Linked DNA regions of Homo sapiens: region 2 is linked to region 1. Evidence: promoter capture Hi-C in 16 types of primary human blood cells and fetal thymus (Javierre and others, 2016). All regions are on one chromosome and are shown on one strand. The core of a region is centred on a gene start or on the middle of the fragment in contact, and the rest is flanking DNA. Distances in the headings are between cores, read along the strand shown.

What was found. Contacts are between HindIII fragments. The CHiCAGO score rates a contact against its expected background, and 5 or more counts as called.
Region 2: a contact is called between a fragment that was not itself captured here and the fragment with the promoter of CBLIF in region 1, in 5 of 17 cell types (M2 macrophages, M0 macrophages, M1 macrophages and 2 more). The highest score is 10.6, in M2 macrophages.

Annotation. Positions count from the first base shown.
Region 1 is chr11:59,842,187-59,847,334 of GRCh38, reverse strand. It overlaps CBLIF (cobalamin binding intrinsic factor), which reads left to right and starts at 1,836. Exons shown (of 9, transcript NM_005142.3): 1 at 1,836-1,960; 2 at 3,280-3,456; 3 at 4,194-4,307; 4 at 4,752-4,892. The coding sequence starts at 1,882. The HindIII fragment of the contact is 3,325 bases long and covers 1,197-4,521 here.
Region 2 is chr11:60,122,399-60,127,510 of GRCh38, reverse strand. No RefSeq gene overlaps it. Among named protein-coding and RNA genes, the nearest start is that of MS4A2, 36 kb to the right of the region's middle. The HindIII fragment of the contact is 1,665 bases long and covers 1,003-2,667 here.

The DNA of each region.
Region 1 (5,148 bases), core at 587-3,086:
TCTCTCCCAGGGCTGCAATCAAGATGTCAGCTGGGGCTGCCTTCATCTCAAAGCTCACTGGGGAAGGGTTCTTTTCTCCCTGAATATCGGCTGGAGGCTACTCTCAGGGGCCATATGTGGGCTTCTCCATAAGGCAGCTCACACTTAGCAGCTGCCTTCATGAGAGCAGGAAGGGCAAGAGAGAGAAGGCAAGCAAGAGGGAAATCGGTCTTTTGCAACCACATCCCATCACCTTTGCTGCATTATATTCATTATAATAGAATGTGGCCCCAGGCCAGCCCACACTCTAGGGAAGAGGACTACACAAGGCATGAATACCGGGAGGTGAAAACACAGGGCCATGTTAGAAGTTGTCCAGCACACCCCAGTATGTACCCTGTGCTCTCATCTCACAAAACTCACCCATGTTTCCCAAGGGGGAAAAAATGCTTTATTACCCATGTCTTACATTTGCTCATTAATTCACTCATTCAAAAAGTATTTTATTTCTACTGTGAGCTAGGTAGTGTTGTAAGGGCTAAGGATAGAGCAGTGAGCCAAAGAGACAAAGCCCCTCCCTCGTGGAGCAGACATTCTAGTAGGGAGATAAACAAACGATAAACAACCACACACTTAGTGCGACAGAGGGCAATGAGTTATAGCAGGCGAGGGGCATGAGGGGTGTCAGTGGAGGTGAGGATGTAGGATCTTATGTAGGGTGGCCTGGGAAGGCGTCTCTAAAAGCTTACCTCTGAGCAGAGACATGAAGGATGTGAGGAAGCCACCATGAGGCTATTTAAAAGAAGAGGGTCCTGGGCTGAGGGGGACATCATGTGCAAAGGTAGCTGATGTGTTCAAGGGGCACAAGAAGTTCTGTGTGATGGGAGCGGTGTGAGCAAAGGGGAAAACGCCTGGAGCTGAGGTCAGAAAGGAAACCAGGAGCCAGATCTTCTAAGGTCTTATAGGTCATGAAAAGGGCTTTGACTTTTATGCTAAGATGGGCGCCACTGGAGAATATCCCCTTAAAATGAGCTACTTTACATGCAGGAAAAAAACAAACAAAACTCCTTTCTTTATAATTTCAACATACCATTTTCAGTTCTCCCTTATAAAGAAGTATAATTTGCATTATAATGTAGCTACACATCTGAAATATGTATTCTTAATGGATCTCACATTTTCTAATTACTTACTTTAAAAGATAATATCTGAAAGCTTTGGGTGTTTGAGATGGCTTTTATCTCCAGATAAGGAAAGAGAAATCAAACAAAACCATTTCTGGGAAACCGAGGTCCATTTCTTGCCTAAAGTCAAACAACTTCAAAGAGTCTAGGCTAGAATCCAGGTCCAGGTAGACATCATTAATTTCACAAAGCCAGATGTCACCTGGCAGATCCCTGCCTGAGAGCCTAAAAGGACATGTTGTAAAGCAGGTGTCTAGGATCATAAAATGAGCTGATGCCTATGAATGGCCTAAATCCCAGTGAAGTAGTTACTAAAAAGCAGCCTGGTAACTGATTGGATACAATAAGGGCTAGAAGAGGTCTTGTTGATACTAGCACATTATCCAAACTTCCTGATGTCTGACCCAGGCCTTTGGTAAAGGACATTTTCTCAACATTGCCTTCACTGCATACCCAGCCCCAGGTTTCTCATATGACTGTGCAACCTAGAAGTCACCTTCAGACACCTTGGAGGGTCTATAGTCGGTAAACTTAGATAAGCAAATGAAAATTTACTTACTTGTATCAGGAAAGGAGAGGTCAGCACAGGGGCAGTTAGGAGAGGCTGGGTTGGGGACAGATTATTTAACAAAGGGAAGCACATATAAGAGAAGGTAAAGAAATATTCCACTTGCAAATCGCGGTACCTGTGGATGAGAGACATAGACGAGAGAGTGAGATGGCCTGGTTTGCCCTCTACCTCCTGAGCCTTCTCTGGGCTACAGCTGGGACTAGTACCCAGACCCAGAGTTCATGCTGTGAGTATGATGTTTTTCCAAGGAGGTCAGGGAAGCAGTTGCCCTGGGGAAGGGGCTGTGACCTCTGACACTGAGTGGTTGAAAATAGCAATCACTATAGGAATTCCAAAATGGGTAAGTCTGAGTGTGATTGTGTGCTGTTCATCCTTCCTGACTTAATAGCATAAGTTCTTTGAGAGACAAGTCTATATGTTTTTTATTAAGAGAGATGGGGCCAGGTGCAGTGGCTCACACCTGTAATCCCAGCACTTTGGGAGACTGAAGCAGGAGGATTGCTTGAGCCCAAGAGTTCAAGACCAGCCTGGGCAACATGGTGAGACTCCATCTCTACAAAAAAAATAAATAAATAAAAATAAAAAATTAGCTGGGCGCAGTGGCATGCACCTGTGGTCCCAGCTACTCAGAAAGCTGAGGTAGGAGAATCGCTTGAGCCCAGGAGGTCGAGGCTGCAGTGAGCTATAATCACACCACTGCACTCCAGCCTAGATGACACAGCAGCACCCTGTCTCAAAAAATCAATAAATAAAAATAATAGAGATGGAAGTACTACTGCAGGAATAATGGTTGATGGTACAAAGACAGACACTCAGTGGCTATTGTGACCAGACACCACTACATACTAGTGAGAGATTTTGGTACTCACTGAGGATAAATTATATCCCAAATCTTTAATACTCTTCATGAAAGAGTAAGGAAAAAAATGAATGCAAGGAAATCAGTGATTTCCAGGAAAGTGATAGAAACTATGAGAAATGTCATGAGCCATATTGCTTGAAGTTACTAAATTTAAAAATCACTTTCTTAAGGATATGGATTATTTGAGAAGATGTAGAAACTAATTGTCCTCAAAAGTAAAATCTCACCATTTTCTCCATTTCTCTTTAGTGACTTAGGACACTAATGCTAATCAAGTGTTCTCCTAAAAGGCATCAAAGATGGCCAGGCGAGGTGGCTCACGCCTGTAATCCCAGCACTTTGGGAGGCCAAGAAGGGTGGATTACCTGAGGTCAGAAATTCGAGACTACCCTGGCCAACATGGTGAAACCCCATCTCTACTAAAAATACAAAAATTAGCCTGGCGTGGTGGTGCACACCTGTAATCCCAGCTACTCAGGAAGCTGAGGCAGGAGAATCACTTGAACCTGGGAGGCAGAGTTTGCAGTGAGCCGAGATCGTGCCATTGCACTCTAGCCTGGGCAACAAGAGTAACACTGTCTCAAAAAAAAAAGAAAGAAAGAAAAAGCATCAAAGACACGGGGATAATGTTTTTGAGAAGGAATGAGGGTTAGAAGGTGAGTAAATGGCTTTCCTCTTCTCAGCCGTTCCCTCAGCACAGGAGCCCTTGGTCAATGGAATACAAGTACTCATGGAGAACTCGGTGACTTCATCAGCCTACCCAAACCCCAGCATCCTGATTGCCATGAATCTGGCCGGAGCCTACAACTTGAAGGCCCAGAAGCTCCTGACTTACCAGCTCATGTCCAGCGACAACAACGGTGAGACATCTGAGCCGCTCGCACTCTCCCTGAATCTCACACATCACATACCACCTCCAGATTCCAACTCAGCGTCCTTCCCACCCCAATGCTGCCTCTGACTGTAAATAAACTACCCAAACACCTTTCCTTACATACCTGGAAGGTACCTGGAAAGAAACATGTGTGAAGTCAGAGCATTCATGGAGGAGGTCAGTAAAGCAGGGAGAGCTCTGGACTAGACGTCGAAAGAGCAGCCTTCTGGTTCTGGCTCTGCCACGTCATAACTCTGGGATCTGAGACAAGTCACTGGATACTGCTCAGCCTCACCTTGCAGATGATTGTAGTAACAATAACCCTACTACTACTAATAGCAATGATAATAATAATAAAATCTCTGTTCTGCCTATCTCCCAGGAGCTGCCTGCAGGCTCAAGTTAGATAAAGTTTAAATTATTTTGCAACTGTAAATTTCTGTATATAAATCTATATGAGTATTTTGCTGCTTTTCTAATCAAATACCAGGGATTCTCAAATACCAAATACTAGAGTCATCAAGTTACACAGAGGCCACTAGATTAAATATTCCCTTACGTATTCTTCCATATTTTTTTCTTTGGAAAGACAGATCAAAGAACTGCTCATATTATTAAAAAGTCAAAATGCTCTAGATAAAAAGCAGAGAACTCATCACTGGCTCCTGGAGAGCTGTCCCCTGAGGATGTCTCTGTCTAACCGTTGTGTTCTCTTCTCTGCAGATCTAACCATTGGGCAGCTCGGCCTCACCATCATGGCCCTCACCTCCTCCTGCCGAGACCCTGGGGATAAAGTATCCATTCTACAAAGACAAATGGAGAACTGGGCACCTTCCAGTAAGACCTGACTGGAAGGGAGAAAAGAGTCAGGCATATGGTTTTACCTAAGAATTTTAAACCCAGAAAGGAAAAGGGTGGGGGTGGAGAGAAAGGCAAGTTAGGGAAGAGACAATGTATCCTTCACTCTGGTCCTTCTGATAATCCAGACCAGAAAGATTCATTTCCAATCCAAAATGAACTAGAAAAGGTCATGATCCCAAGGACACAAGCTTGTCCAGCCATCACCTGTCTAAAGACACAGAGTCATCCCTTTTATTCTTTGCAGATGCCTGATGACATTCTTTTGAAAAACACTGAAGTTGCTCTTTGCCTATGCTGTGTCTCTCTTTGGGGGCAGGTTTTCTAGCAATTTCCTTTTCAAAGGCTTGGCTTTTCCTTCTTTGCAAATGTCCTCATCGTGGTGACTGTGAGTCTGATGAAGGTTCTCTATCCCCTTCGGAGGCCCCAACGCTGAAGCATCAGCCTTCTATGGGCCCAGTCTAGCGATCTTGGCACTGTGCCAGAAGAACTCTGAGGCGACCTTGCCGATAGCCGTCCGCTTTGCCAAGACCCTGCTGGCCAACTCCTCTCCCTTCAATGTAGGTGAGTAGGTCACCACTACCCCGAGCTGGGAACATCAGAGGCATCGTGAACTGAATGGTGGAGCTGGCAGGGAAGTGACAAAGGAGAGCGTCCCATGGAGGAGGAGCTAAGGATGTGAACGTGCCTGTGGATGGGAGATATTTACCAGATGTTTGTTGGGCAGGTGAATTGAGGAGTAAGTGAAGGAAGAGGGGGTAGTATTATGTAGAAACAAGGACAATTGATAATACTTGATATGTCTGGCAGCTACAGAATC
Region 2 (5,112 bases), core at 586-3,085, 280 kb before region 1:
TCACTATTGTAGAACCTAACATGGGTCTTTTGAGATGTTTTTCAGACTTTTGCATTCTGATGACGATGACCTACTAACTCCACCTGGACTCATGACTCATGACTCAACTGATCCTGTGGTCCCCACCCAGAGGCTGACTCTGCACACAGGAACTATTTTTCAAACCCCTATGATATCATCCCCAACCAATCAGCATTACCCATCTCCTAGCCCCTTACAAACCAAACTATCCTTGAAAAACTCTAGCCCCCAAGCTTTCAAGGAGGCTGATTTGAGTAATAAACCCCTGTCCTTCCATTTGGCTAGCTCTGTATTTATTAAAATCTTTACTGTAATACTGCTGTCTACGAATCGGCTGTAGCTGTGCAGTGGGCAATTACAAAAATAAAAGCGTTGTTAGTATCAAACCTGCTAACATATATAAGTCATTCAATGGGGTTGCCTCATATTGGGCTCTCAGAAATATTATTTTCTTTTTATGTTTATAAGTATCTATGATGTTACGATAGATATAATTTGTTTTTGTCCATCCGTGACTCCTAGTTTTCAACTAGGAAGATTCCTATAAGACTTCTCATGCCCCAAGTACTAAAGCAGTAAGAATATCTTTTGTTAAAGTATTTGATTATCCTTGGTTCCTGAAGTCACTCCTAAAAGATAAAGTTGAAAGACAGTCTTTTGTTATTTACAACAAGTGCTTTAAAATACTCCTAAGCTAGAGATATACCCAATGTAAATAAACAAGTTAACGGGTGCAGCACACCAACATGGCACATGTATACATATGTAACAAACCTGCATGTTGTGCACATGTACCCCAGAACTTAAAGTATAATAATAAAAAAAATTGTGAAAGAAAAAGAAAAAGTTGATGAATCTAGGTAAAGGCATATGAGAGTTCATTTTACAATTTTTGTAACTTTTCTAAAGGTTTAAACTTTTTTTAATAAAAAGTTTTTTAAAAAGAAAAAATAAATACATAAAATAAAATACTCCTAAGCTTATGTTAATAAGACAATTTTTAGAAAGCCCTAGAAACAACTGGTTGGAGGGCTGATTCCCAGGGGAATGATTCATTGTGCCCAGAGGGTTGGATTTTTTTGTCTCAACCCTCAACTTCCAGGAAGGGGAAGAGGGGCTGAAAATTCAGTTAATCACTAATGACCAATGGTTCAATTAGTCATGCCTATATAATAAAGCCTTCATAAAACCCAAAAGGACAGGTTTTGGAGGGTTTCCAGGTAATACATAGGCTTACAAGAAGATGAACAAGAACTCATTGATGTGCAGGAAGTTTAGCACATTCCATGAGGACAGAAGCTCCTGTGCTTGGGACCCTTCTGGACCTTGCCCTATATACCTCTTCACCTGGTTCTTTGTTTGTATTGCAAAAGAAACTAAACTTTTTATTGTGAAATGCAATCTCCCTTTTAAATTATCAGGCCCAGAGAGACATTGAAATTAGATTACAGTCATGTCCCACCCTCTCCTCCTTGAGCTAAGTAATCATTTCTAAGCCACCTGCTATAAGGACTCTAGACTCAATTAACATAATGATGCCATATGCTGGCAGCATAAGTCGAACCTTATAGCCAATCATGAATCAAGTTATCTCTGTAAACCAACACAAATTTCTGAAAAGAGAACTTTTGTAATCATCTCCCCTAATTCTACCTTTTTTCTTCAAAAACTTGAGCCTTTTCTTTGATCTCAGGAGCACTTCCCAGTGTTTGCTGGGCTTCAGTCCTCAACCTTAGTCAAAATAAACTCTCTACCTATATTAATTTTGTCTTGGTTTCTTTGTTTAGGTCAACAGTATCCTTTATTATTTCCTTTATAATACACTGATAAACATGTTTCCCTGAGATCTGTGAGGTGCTCCAGCAAATTAGTTAAGTCCAAGACTGGGGGCATGGGATCCCTGATTTATAGTGGGTCAGTCAGAAGTACAGGCAAAATAACCCAGGGCTTCTGATTGGCATTGGAAATGGGAAAAAGTCTTGTGAGACTGAGCCCTCAAACCATGGAATCTGATATTATCTCCAGTTTAGATGATGTCTCAACAGAATTGAAGGACAGCCAGCTGGTGTTCACTCCAGAAATGATTGCTTGCCTTTTTGGTGGGGAGAAATCCCCACACGTTTGGTCGCAGAAGTCTATATGTTGTGTCTCTGGTGTGAGAGCAGAGGAAAAACAGTTCGAGTTGTTCTTTCTACTTGGTACTATTTTGGAAGAAGTATGTAAAACAGCAATCTATCTTAAAAATAGTTTCCTGTGATTTCCTGCCGTGTCTGACCCTCAGACCCTGACTGAGCGACGGATGAATGGAGTATGCCAGACACAGGTTTCTTGCCTGGCTGCATGGCTAGGGGACTGGGCTGCTCAAAGACCCTGAGGAGGGTGCCATAAAGAGTCAGCAGCCGCAGCCTCGACAAGCTAGCTTTGGGGGCATTTATTCAGTACAGATTTAATCACAAAGGCCTTGAGTAATTAACACGGTTGGGCCCCCCTCCCCACCCCTGGGGAGAGCAGTCCTGCACGCAGATAATTAAAGGCCAGGTTCCAAGGCCTAAGTAAACTAACTTATCTATATCAATTCCATTGTGCTTCCTTGTTATCTACTCCGAGAGAATTCAGCTGCCTTCAGCTATATCCTTTCCCCAAGCTTTTGCAAAACCTCCTGGCCTTCCAAGAAGATTTGCTTCTTTCTATAATTTTTCCCGCCACCCTGACCGATCTCCTATAATTTCCAACTTAATTTTTCTTGAAATCTAAATTGTTGTCCCAATTAATTTGAATTAAGTTCACTGCCCAGATAATTTTCAAAATGTCACTGCCCAGTATACATACATGACAAAGCAGGTTATGGTGGTAACACAGGTTATGGGAGAAAAGAGGAAAAAGAGGAGGCCTGACTAGCAAAGTTGGTCTTGTTATGTAGATGAAACTTCACAGGTAGTAGCCCTCAGAGAAAACAGGTAGTAAATCTTTTTTTCAGACCTTTAAAGATATCAGCCTATCTATCAGTTAATCTTTTCTGGATTTGCACAAGGGCTGGCCTCAAATAAAACCTGGCTGCATTAATGTAGATTTTCTCTGCAGTTGCAGATCCCCTCCCTCAAAAGACAGCTTTTCAGGGCTACTTCTGTTTGCTGGCTCTCTGAACAGACATCTCAAAATACATCAAAGAAGTATAAATTGGGGTAAAATAGTTTTATTTTCTTCAAAGGCAGGTGAGAAAGCATTTGTAGCTGTAGCCACAAATAGTAAATAGACACTTGGTGCTAGGAAATCTGGATACACTTCCCTAGTAAATAAAATTCTGACTCTCTAGGAGGAATCTTTCATATTTTAATCTTTATTCAATTTTAAGACACTTCTTTCCCCTACCCACATTCTCAACTACTCAATATGTAGTATTTTATGGAAAAAAAGGCAATGGCAACAGTTTTTCTGTAAAATGAGAACTAACTCATTTTTTCCATTATCCTATCTGTCAACCAAACTATATTTATAACCACACATGTGGCCTTTTATTTTATTACAGGGTAATATTTTATTTCATTCTACTTATAAACATTTCTGTTCCCATGTGTTGTACTGAACGCCTGTTGACTCCAATAGGAATGGCACCATGTCCAAGAGGCTGAGGAAGAGACCTGGAGCCTGTGAACAAGACGTAGGGATCATTGGGGACTTACATACGGGGTAGTCCAGGAGCAGTGAGTTGGACAGGAAAACTGCTCCCATGTGTGAAAACCATGCAGGATATATTATATTTTCACTTAGCCACCTCCATCTGCCAACCTCCACCTGCCAATCTCCATTTAACCCAAAACAAAGGGCCTCAATCCCCTGTATTGCCTGATTCCAAGCAATGGGCCTGGAGTTTGGAGGTTCTTCATGGATAAGGAGTGAATCCCCAGGTTGGCCATTCCTAGATTCCTTAGCTCAGAACACCAAACACACATTCTTAGACTATAGGGCCATTCTCAGCATGTGCTTGAATTACTGCTGTCAGGTACGTGTTCCATATACTATGTAAAGCTTTCTCCCTCTATTTGAGACTCCGTTTTTTCTTGCATTATTAACGACTTCACTTTTGAATTTATCACTTTTCTGTCTTACATCTTTTAGTTCTTTCCCTCTCAACTTGATTATTTGCATCAGAATAGAGACATGTCTAAAATTTTAATTTTTTATTTTTACAAATTCTGATCTATTAACTCTCTGAAATGCCCATGTGAAAGGAAAATAAAATCTTGGGACCCCCCCAGATACACCATGCCAAAGAGAGAAGCTAAGCTTGAAAACTCAGTCATGCAAAAACTGCCTTCCATTTTGTTCCTAAATAGCTGCAAGATAGAAAGCCACATATTGCCCCAGGTAGCCTCTTTCACAAATTGTTCACAAAGAAATTCCTTGTGGGCTGGAAAACCTGTACCCTAAAGGGAGTTGTCTTGAATTTCACCCTGACAATGTAAATTAACAGCTTATCTTTGCAATCGTTGGACAAAGATAAAGAAACCATCCCTCCACCCATCCTGAGACAAATACATATTTGACTTCTTCCTCTACTCTATGTCTATTTTTTATGTTATGTAAAATGAAGATTTACTAAGCTCAAGATGAACGCATAATTGACTGTTCCTCTGTCCTCTCCTTTCACATGTAACATGTGGATTCAGTGAGCACTAATCAAAGCCTCACAAGGATATGAACACTTATCTCACTACTTACCCTCCTTCTTTTTTTCTTTCCTCTTCCCCCTCTGCCATTCTTTCCCCCTTAAATATTGAAGTCCTCAAAGCCTTTTTGGAAAAAACACAGGTCACACATCCTGCTGTACCTTGTGTCTTTTTTCCTAGATGGATCCTCAAACATAGTGAAATAAACCTCTGAATTGATTGACACCTGCCTCAGACACACTTTTTGGTTTATATCCATTCTCCCCTTCTTTTCATTTCCTGCTTCAAGGAGGTTCATGTGTTATGCTGCCCCCGCTTTAATCATCAAAATTTTCAGAGTCCATAATCTGGATCCTATTTGCATCTATAACCTGATTGGCCTCCATTATGGAATTAATCACAAAGCTCAGAGCAAGTCAAGAGA